3 separate regions of the Homo sapiens genome follow, and regions 1 and 3 are each linked to region 2. Evidence: promoter capture Hi-C in 16 types of primary human blood cells and fetal thymus (Javierre and others, 2016). All regions are on one chromosome and are shown on one strand. Each heading gives the region's core, a stretch centred on a gene start or on the middle of the fragment in contact. The rest is flanking DNA. Distances are from core to core; before and after follow the strand shown. Region 1 holds the start of C2orf76 (chromosome 2 open reading frame 76). Region 2 holds the start of MARCO (macrophage receptor with collagenous structure). Region 3 holds the start of STEAP3 (STEAP3 metalloreductase).

Evidence for each region. Contacts are between HindIII fragments. The CHiCAGO score rates a contact against its expected background, and 5 or more counts as called.
Region 1: the fragment with the promoter of C2orf76 here is called in contact with the fragment with the promoter of MARCO in region 2 in 2 of 17 cell types (M2 macrophages and M0 macrophages); the score reaches 10.9 in M2 macrophages.
Region 3: the fragment with the promoter of STEAP3 here is called in contact with the fragment with the promoter of MARCO in region 2 in 3 of 17 cell types (monocytes, M2 macrophages and M1 macrophages); the score reaches 8.5 in monocytes.

The regions. Positions count from the first base shown.
Region 1 is chr2:119,365,516-119,368,215 of GRCh38, forward strand. C2orf76 (chromosome 2 open reading frame 76) reads right to left here and starts at 1,319. Exons shown (of 6, transcript NM_001322331.2): 1 at 1,275-1,319. It overlaps DBI (diazepam binding inhibitor, acyl-CoA binding protein), which reads left to right and starts at 1,462. Exons shown (of 4, transcript NM_001079862.4): 1 at 1,462-1,545; 2 at 2,673-2,700. The coding sequence starts at 1,537. RefSeq lists enhancers at 893-1,152, 1,523-1,852, 2,383-2,582 and a silencer at 1,273-1,422. The HindIII fragment of the contact is 12,909 bases long and covers 1-2,700 here.
Region 2 is chr2:118,940,851-118,943,550 of GRCh38, forward strand. MARCO (macrophage receptor with collagenous structure) reads left to right here and starts at 1,344. Exons shown (of 17, transcript NM_006770.4): 1 at 1,344-1,547. The coding sequence starts at 1,451. The HindIII fragment of the contact is 9,171 bases long and covers 1-1,441 here.
Region 3 is chr2:119,222,413-119,225,112 of GRCh38, forward strand. It overlaps STEAP3 (STEAP3 metalloreductase), which reads left to right and starts at 1,422. Exons shown (of 6, transcript NM_182915.3): 1 at 1,422-1,476. RefSeq lists silencers at 1,165-1,944, 2,005-2,074. The HindIII fragment of the contact is 5,957 bases long and covers 1-2,700 here.

The DNA of each region.
Region 1 (2,700 bases), core at 69-2,568, 420 kb after region 2:
ATTAAGTTAGCAAGTTAAGTCTGAAAGCGTCTACCTTCCCTGGGGAGGGGGAAGGTGTAGGCAGGGCAGAGATTTGTAGTCCAGCCCTCTTGCCACAAATTATGAATTAGAGAGGAATGACTTTGCTTTTTTAATGATCTCCAGAGAATTTTCCATCATTTCCCTCTCTTCACCCAGCTCCTTTGCAACCACTGCCAGAGAAGTCTTCCTTTAGCTTCTTAAACATCGATCCTAAAACACTTCCAGACACCTGTGCTGCTCCTTTCAGTTCCCATGGAGATTAGGCTGTGTAACAATCTCGCAAAGACGTTCCCCTCCGTCTCCTCATCCTCTTTTCAAACCCTTTTACGATTTCCCATCTCACTCAGCATGACAGTCAAAGTCCCTGTGATGGCCAACTTCTGCATCACCTAGCCAGTCTGCCACCGCCAAAACTCTCCAGCCTCATCTTTCTACTCTTCCCCTGGTTCCTTGCCCACGCCTTTACACTTGTTCTCTGCTTGGAATCTTCCCTCCCCTCCTTGAGGAACTTTCTCAAATGTCACCTTCCCTCAATACTCCCCCTCCTCCATTTAAAACTATAAACTTCCAACTCTCTAAGCCCCTAAAGTACTCTATATTTAACTTATTGTATAAACTACTGTCCCTACTTGTAAGTTCCAAGATTGCAGGGATTCACCCGCTTTGTTCACTGCTGTCTGCCAAGGTCTAGAACAGTGCAAGTTACCCAACAGGAGTTCAATAAACAGCCATTCATTTAACAAATATTTGCTGAGCACTTCGTCCCGTCCAAGTTTGTTAAATCAAGACAAATAAGACACCGTCCCTGCCTTTAACGCACCAGATGGAGAAATGCACCACAGACATAAATGTGCAATACAGGCCTGACACTACGGCCACAAGCAAGTCAAAGAACGTGCCAAAAGTTCAGAGGAAGAAGCCTCGGCTTCGCCTTTCGGGAGACCAGTCCAGCTTTCCACCATCACGCTGCTCATCAGGGACCATCTCCGGGGGTCTCCTCTAGACCCCAAGGGAGGAGCGGGTCCCGCCCGCCATTCCCAGGTCTCAGAGTTTACTTGTCCAGAGATGCAACTTCCGGCCTCTTCAGGCCGGGCAAGATTTAAGGAAAGAAAAGAAACATAAGGACCTCCGTTCTTCGGTCTCCGTCCCCTCCCCTTCCCCCGCGTGCCGTCCCCACAACGGGCCAGGACTGAACCCAACTCTCGACCAACTCCCGGCAGCAAAACTAAGCACCCTACTTCCGTTGTCCCCACCTGTTCCCGGCGTCCCCTTCGGCTACTCCCGGCGTTTGCGCAAGCGGTCCCACGTGGGCTCGGGCGGGGCTAGCGCCGCGGCGGGGGCTGGGCACGCCCCTAGCGCATAGCTGGCTTCTGATTGGCTTTCCGGTGCTCGCCCGAGCAGGGTTGGGGCGAGTGGACCGCGCCTCTAAAGGCGCTTGCCAGTGCAATCTGGGCGATCGCTTCCTGGTCCTCGCCTCCTCCGCTGTCTCCCTGGAGTTCTTGCAAGTCGGCCAGGATGTCTCAGGTACAGCGCGTGCACAGCCAGGCTGCGAAGGTGCAGCGGGCGGGAGGCCCGTTGGGGGCTCAGCCGGCTGCCAGAAGCTCTCGGGCTCTTTCCTTCCGTGCCCCTCACTTGCTCATGGGCCCATGCCTAGCCCTGATTCGTTGGACAGAGCCTTGTGAGCGGGATTTTCCGTTTGGGGATTTCTAAATCTGCTGCCCACCCCGCAACTGCCGGAAAGTTGCCCATGGGGTGGACTTCGCTGTGTAGCGGGAGAGGGGTGGGAGTCGAGGGTGCTTGATGGAGAGATGGGGGAAGGGGTTGCACGGATTGGAGGAGCGAGGAGACTCAGTCCCCATCCCGAAGCACAGGGCAGGACGTCGCGGCGGAGTGGGGAAGCGAGGAGTCCGTGGCCGAGAGCTTGGAGGTCAGGGGAAGTACGGGGCCGGCTGCTCAGAGTGCGGGACGAGGAGAATCGCGGCCCGGGGAGAGGTGACCCAGGGGCCCCTCCCTTCTCTCCAGTGTAGACCCTTGTCTGAGACCGAGCTATGTGGGGCGACCTCTGGCTCCTCCCGCCTGCCTCTGCCAATCCGGGCACTGGGACAGAGGTCGGTGTTGAACGCGCGGGCCCCAGGGGGAGGGAGGGGACCAACGGGCTCCGGCGCTGACACCGCGGCACTCATGCCCTGTCCCCTTTCAGCTGTTTCCAGCATACTGTGCCCCGTCTGTCCTCAGGCCAGGGCTTCGCTGCAGCCCCGGCCACTCCCTAGTGCCTGGCCCGGTGGTGGCCAGGCAGTTGGCCGCGCTGCTTCTCCCGCAGAGGGGACCCCCACTGGGGGCGAAGGCTTGGCCTGCCCTCTTCACTGCTGTATTTCCAGACCTGATGCCTGCGTTTGTGAGAGCTCTGGATATATGGTTTTCGATTGAATGAGTGAACTGGAGGGGCTTCCCCTTCTTGTGTTGCTGAATCTTTCTAGCTGCCCTGTTGGGGCAGGGAGGGGCAGACACACTTCAGGGGCTGCATTGCCCGAAGGGTGCCACCTTTCCCACCTCTCCATCCCCGTAACTGGGCTGTCATCAGGCCACAGTAGGATTCTTACCCTCTCCCACCCAGAGGAGGCCCTCAATCCTCTCCTCTCCCTTCCATTTAGGCTGAGTTTGAGAAAGCTGCAGAGGAGG
Region 2 (2,700 bases), core at 94-2,593:
ATAGGCCAAAAGTCTACGGCTCCCCTGCTCCAGGCTGTCCCACCTCTGAGAGGCTGCACCTGCCCTCCTTCCTCCCTGGAGGGCCTTTGCCTCATCTTGATCTGGATCAATCCCCCATTATCCTTTTAAGCCCAGCTCTGGTATCTGATATCTCTTGATTCAGATGATAAAGCTATTTGTCATATTTCTGCCCTGTCTCCCCTGCCTCCCGGCACTTCTGTCTTTTCAGGGACATCAACCTTTGCCGCACTTCACAGCAATTTTCTGGAATGTAGTTGTAGCCGCAACCATCTTGCATGGTAGACTGTGAATATCTTTCATGAAAAAAGGCCATTTCTTCATCTCCTCGGTGCCCAGCAGGCTCACAATGTCTCTAATGATAATAACAACAACATGACCATAGTGTTTATTACCTAATACTTCCATCCTAGCCACCTTATATGATTTAATTCATTTAAGGCTCACGAAATTCATATCTTCCTTATTTATACAAACAGAAGAGTGAGATGCTCAAAGCTCAAGTGATTTGCCTACTGCCAGACAGCCCCTATGTGGAAGAGGTGGAATTTGAAGCCAGGCATTCTAGCTCTTAGTGTCTGTGTCTTAACCACCATGCTATACAGCATCCCTGGTAGAGATGCCTGACGGGAGGGAGAGAGGGGAGAAGCTACTTTCCTTAAGGAGCTCAGATCTCACTGGGGCCTGGACAAGGACACCTGTAACACATGTACACATGTGCACACATGTGTACACACACAGAGAGAGAACATGGGAAAACTACAAGAAGAAATACTAAGTGCTAAAATGTGTGGTTCAGAGCAAGGCTTCTCAAACTGTAATGTGTATATAAATCACCTGGGGATCTAGTTAAACTGTAGATTTGGATTTGATCTGATGGGGTGGGACCAGAGACTCATTGTTAGAACAAGTGAACTTGCATTTCTAACAAGTTCTCAGGTGATACTAATACTGCTGGTCCATGGACCACACTTTGAGCAGCAAGGATGAACTCTAAAGGTTGAGGCAGGTCAGAGAAGGGAGATTTCACTGTGGGCTGGAGAGGTCCTGGGACAGAGAGCTGAGTCTGGGCCCATGGCAGGGCTTGGTTGGCCCTCTCTGGAGCCATCCAGCTTTTGGGTCTCAGGGACCTGGGAGTGACGGGTGCATTCAGAGGCCCGTAACTTGTGTCCCAAAGCCTCCTCGATCCCCCTTAACAAGCAGCAGCACTGTGTGGGAGATCCACATGTGAATAGCCCGTGTTTGAGAAATGTCCAATCCTGATCATGTCAGGAAACATCCTGCAAATTCTGAAATCAGAGCCAAAGGGAAGTGCTGCGAGGTTTACAACCAGCTGCAGTGGTTCGATGGGAAGGATCTTTCTCCAAGTGGTTCCTCTTGAGGGGAGCATTTCTGCTGGCTCCAGGACTTTGGCCATCTATAAAGCTTGGCAATGAGAAATAAGAAAATTCTCAAGGAGGACGAGCTCTTGAGTGAGACCCAACAAGCTGCTTTTCACCAAATTGCAATGGAGCCTTTCGAAATCAATGGTAAAGTACGATTCCCCAATAATGGAAATGACCAGAAATGTAGTCTTTCTGCTAGCGAGATACGAAAATAGACAAGTCAATAGAAAGTCTAGGTTTGGCTTATTGCTGCATTTTGCACGTAATCATCACTAATACTGTCTGGAGTGCTTCAATTTGGAATTTCTGGAATGCTAATAATAGATGCTGTATTTTTAGCATATAGTCAGGTTTTTCTTAGCTTCACTATTGTTTTAATCATATTTAAATATTTTCCCTTGAAAAAATGCCAATGCTTATTAAATGTCCCCTTTTTTTAATGAATGTCTTATTCTGACACACAGGTTGGGTGATACAATGAAAACGCAAAACAGGGGCACTGAAAGGGGACCACAAAACTGAAGCCAAGCATGACAGTTTTCAAAACACAGCTTCTTTAAAATTCTTTAAGGGGATTTCTGTTATAACTGATGTGCTGGTCAGGAAACATATTCTGTATTTCATGTTGACTGAAATATGTTCATAGCTTCATAATTAGTTTGTCTTAGGTTAAACTCAGGTCTGTAATATTCAGTCAACTCTGTTGTCTTTATTTTCTCACTCAGCATTCAACAGGTGATGCATTTTTAAAATCTTCTAGAATTTGTAGCATTTGAAGTCATGGGTGGGCTTGCATTCCACAAATGAGCTCTGATTTCCTAGTCTAGAACGTTCTCTTGGGATCATCTTCCAAGTTGATCAGTCATTTCCACTCCCAGGCTTTGCTGGAAGTTGTCTATGCAGGAAAATTGGTGGCTTTATCTCCTGGCCAGAGTGTCCTTCTCATCCCACACCTGTCTGCCCAGGTCCCTGCCTGGAATTTTCAGCGCACAAAGATGAAGCGTCTGGGGCTCTGCCTCTAGGAATTTACAGTGTAATAACAGAGAAAGGTGTGAGTGCTAATGGCTATAATAATCATTGGCTATTTAGAACTTCTCAGAATGCAACATTCTGGATACATGACTGTTTAAGAGACTGAAGATGTTCAAGCAAAGTCAGCTGATCAAGCATACTCAGCACCTATTTCCAGCAGGGCACTGCACTCAGCACTGAGGAAACAGGCTTGAATAAACATAGCCTCTGGCCTCTGGCTTCTGGCACGAGGGGACAGGGGACAGGGTAAGCTGCCCATGAACTG
Region 3 (2,700 bases), core at 172-2,671, 280 kb after region 2:
GGGAGCACTGTCTGGCACCTGGGGCACTGTGAGTGTTGAATGGATAAAGGACCTGTAAGAATTGCCATAAGAGGTGTTGCCCTGGGGCAAGGTGGGACAGGAAAGTTCTTGCAAGAGAAGAGAGGCTCTGGCCTTGGGCCCTGGCTGAGCAGAGAGCTGGGAGGTGGGTATTCGGGTAGGAGGAAAGCTGTGGAGGGGGAAAGCAAACTGCCTGCGGGGGTGGGGGGGTTCTCGGCGGGAGTTGGGGGTGGAGGGAAAGGCGCTTTACAGCAGCACTCCCTCCACAGGGAGACCAGAGCTCTGCCTCTTCCTCCCCACCGTGCCCTTTGGGGTCCAGTTGTGGGGCCTTCCTTGAGGCCCAGCTCCTGCCTCTGGCCTCCGGAGGCTTATCTCCCCAACAGAGGCTGGCTCCCCAGAAAACAGGATTCTTAGACTTCCTAAAAATAACCTGAAGCTCCTTATCAGAGGCTAATAGTGTATGTCTCCCAGGAATACTCTAGAAAGAGTACCAGGGGTCAGGAACCCCCACTCAGCCTCCACGAATCTGAGCGGAAAAGCCCGGGTCTCCTCACCTGTAAAGAAAATAACTGCAGCCGGCAAATGTGACCACAGGTGAGAAGGGGCTTCGGACCAGGGCGCACACCTCTAGAGAGGTGCCCACAGACAGCCTCCCCTTACTTACGCCCTGCTTCGCTGCAGTGCTGTGAAGCCATCGGCATTGGAAGTGCGGAGGGCAGCGGGCAGTGCCCCAGGGGGAAGGGGGGACGGGTAGGGTTTCAGAGCCCAGAAGGCCTAGACAGGGAGGCAGCTCCGGGAGAAAGGTACCCGCCATCCCACCGGTCTTGGAACCTGAGGACTGCTGGGAAGGGTCAAAAGTCTGCCCTAAGGGTGGACAAGGGACAGAGATTGGGGGGGGACCACAAAGGCCTGGGCGCAACCTTGTTGAGAGGGAAGGGATCCGGACCCAATCTGGAGCCCTGGTCTCTTCCCACCTGCAACCGTGGCTGCCACTTGGCCTCGGTTATAAAATGGACAAGGATTCGAGGTGCTCCTCAGGTTAAGAGAGGGGGGCCTAGAGGTCACCCTGGCCTCGGTGCCCTCCGTGGCCGGGTTAAGAGGAGGTCCCGGAGTTCTGCTCACTTCAGCCGTGTGCCGGGCACTGCAAATCAGGAAGTGTTGGCGCCGGCTGGCGACCTCCCGCCTGGGGCCAGGGGAGGAGGGTGGTTGGACGCTGCCACCGCTGCCGGGGCTGTGCAGGGCTGGGCGGGGAGCGAGGACCCGGCGGCTCCTGATTGCGGCCCCGGGGGAGGTGGCCGAGCCGGATAAGCTGCGGCGGGCTGGAGGGCGGCCACCTCCCCTGCAGGTCCGGCCCTCCCGGGCGGGTGGGGCGCGGGGGAGGAGGAGCCTCGGGCCGAGCCACCGCCTTCGCCGCGGACCTTCAGCTGCCGCGGTCGCTCCGAGCGGCGGGCCGCAGAGGTGAGTGTACCCTCCCCCGGTCTCCGCGGGGCTGCGTGCTGCGCCCGGTCCCCGAGACGCCCGCCCGGTTGCACCCTGCGCCGTCGCTGCGCGGACCTCGGGTGCCGCCACACGTCTGGAGGCGACTTCTGTCCCCTGGGACCGAGCCACGTGCGCCCGGCGGCAGAGAAACCGGGTTCCGGGGCCCCCACCCCGTGTGCCTTCCTTCCCTAGGCGTGGAAGCCGCTTGCGCCGCGCAGGTTAGGCAGGGCCGGCGGCGACAGTGGCGGGGAGCAGGCTCCGGAGCCCCGGGTGCAGATGTGGGCGCCCCTCCGGATGACCCCGGCTGAGTCCACAGGTCCCGTGTGCCCCACGGCTGGGGCTCTGGCCAGCGGTCCCAAAGGAGGGCTGGTAGCTGTGGGCGGGGATCTTCCAGGCTCTTCCTCGCCAGACCTCCCAGTCCCTTCGCAGCCGAACAGGGCAGGGACAGGGGCAGGTGCAGGGGCTGGGCAGGGGCGCCCGACCTTGGTCCCCAGGAGGAGGCTGGCCTCACCAGTGCCCGCCTCTGCCCGCGGAGCCCTTGCCTGGCAAAGTTCCCCCTCCTGCCCGGCAAAGCTCCCCCTCCTGCCCACTTCCCCGAAATTTGGGGACAGGCTGCCCGGAGAGGTGTGGTTGGAACTTTGGTCACTCTGGGTAAATGAAGGGGAGGGTGTGCCCAGATAATATGCGGTTTGGGGACCAGAAAGCCGGATCCGTGGGGAGAAGCAGGAAGGTCCCGCTGGAGCCCTGGCAGAGGGCACAGAGAGGCCTCCCAAATATCCAGGGCCACCTCAGAGATGGGCTCCAGAAGTGGGGATTCTGGAAATGCCCCCAGGGAGGTATTTCTGTCCATCAGAGTGCAGCCATAATATAATTAACAGCAGATATTCCCATTTATGTGTGCCAGGCATCTTGCTAAGGGCTTTGAGCACAATATCCCAGTTAATCCTCACAACAGGAAGGCACCATTATCTCTTGTTAAAAATGGGGAAACAGCCTCAGAGAGTCCACGTATTTTGCAAGGATACACAGCTAGGAAGTTGCAGAAGTAGAATTTGAACCCAGAGTTATCTGACTTGGAGCCCAGAGGAACCTACCACTGGGGCGAAACAGGCTGTGTCCTCACGGGGATTCTGGCAGCCCCAAGAATACAGTGCTGAGAGCCAGAAGGTCCACAAAACCAAAGGGTCTCACCTGGGTGTGTCC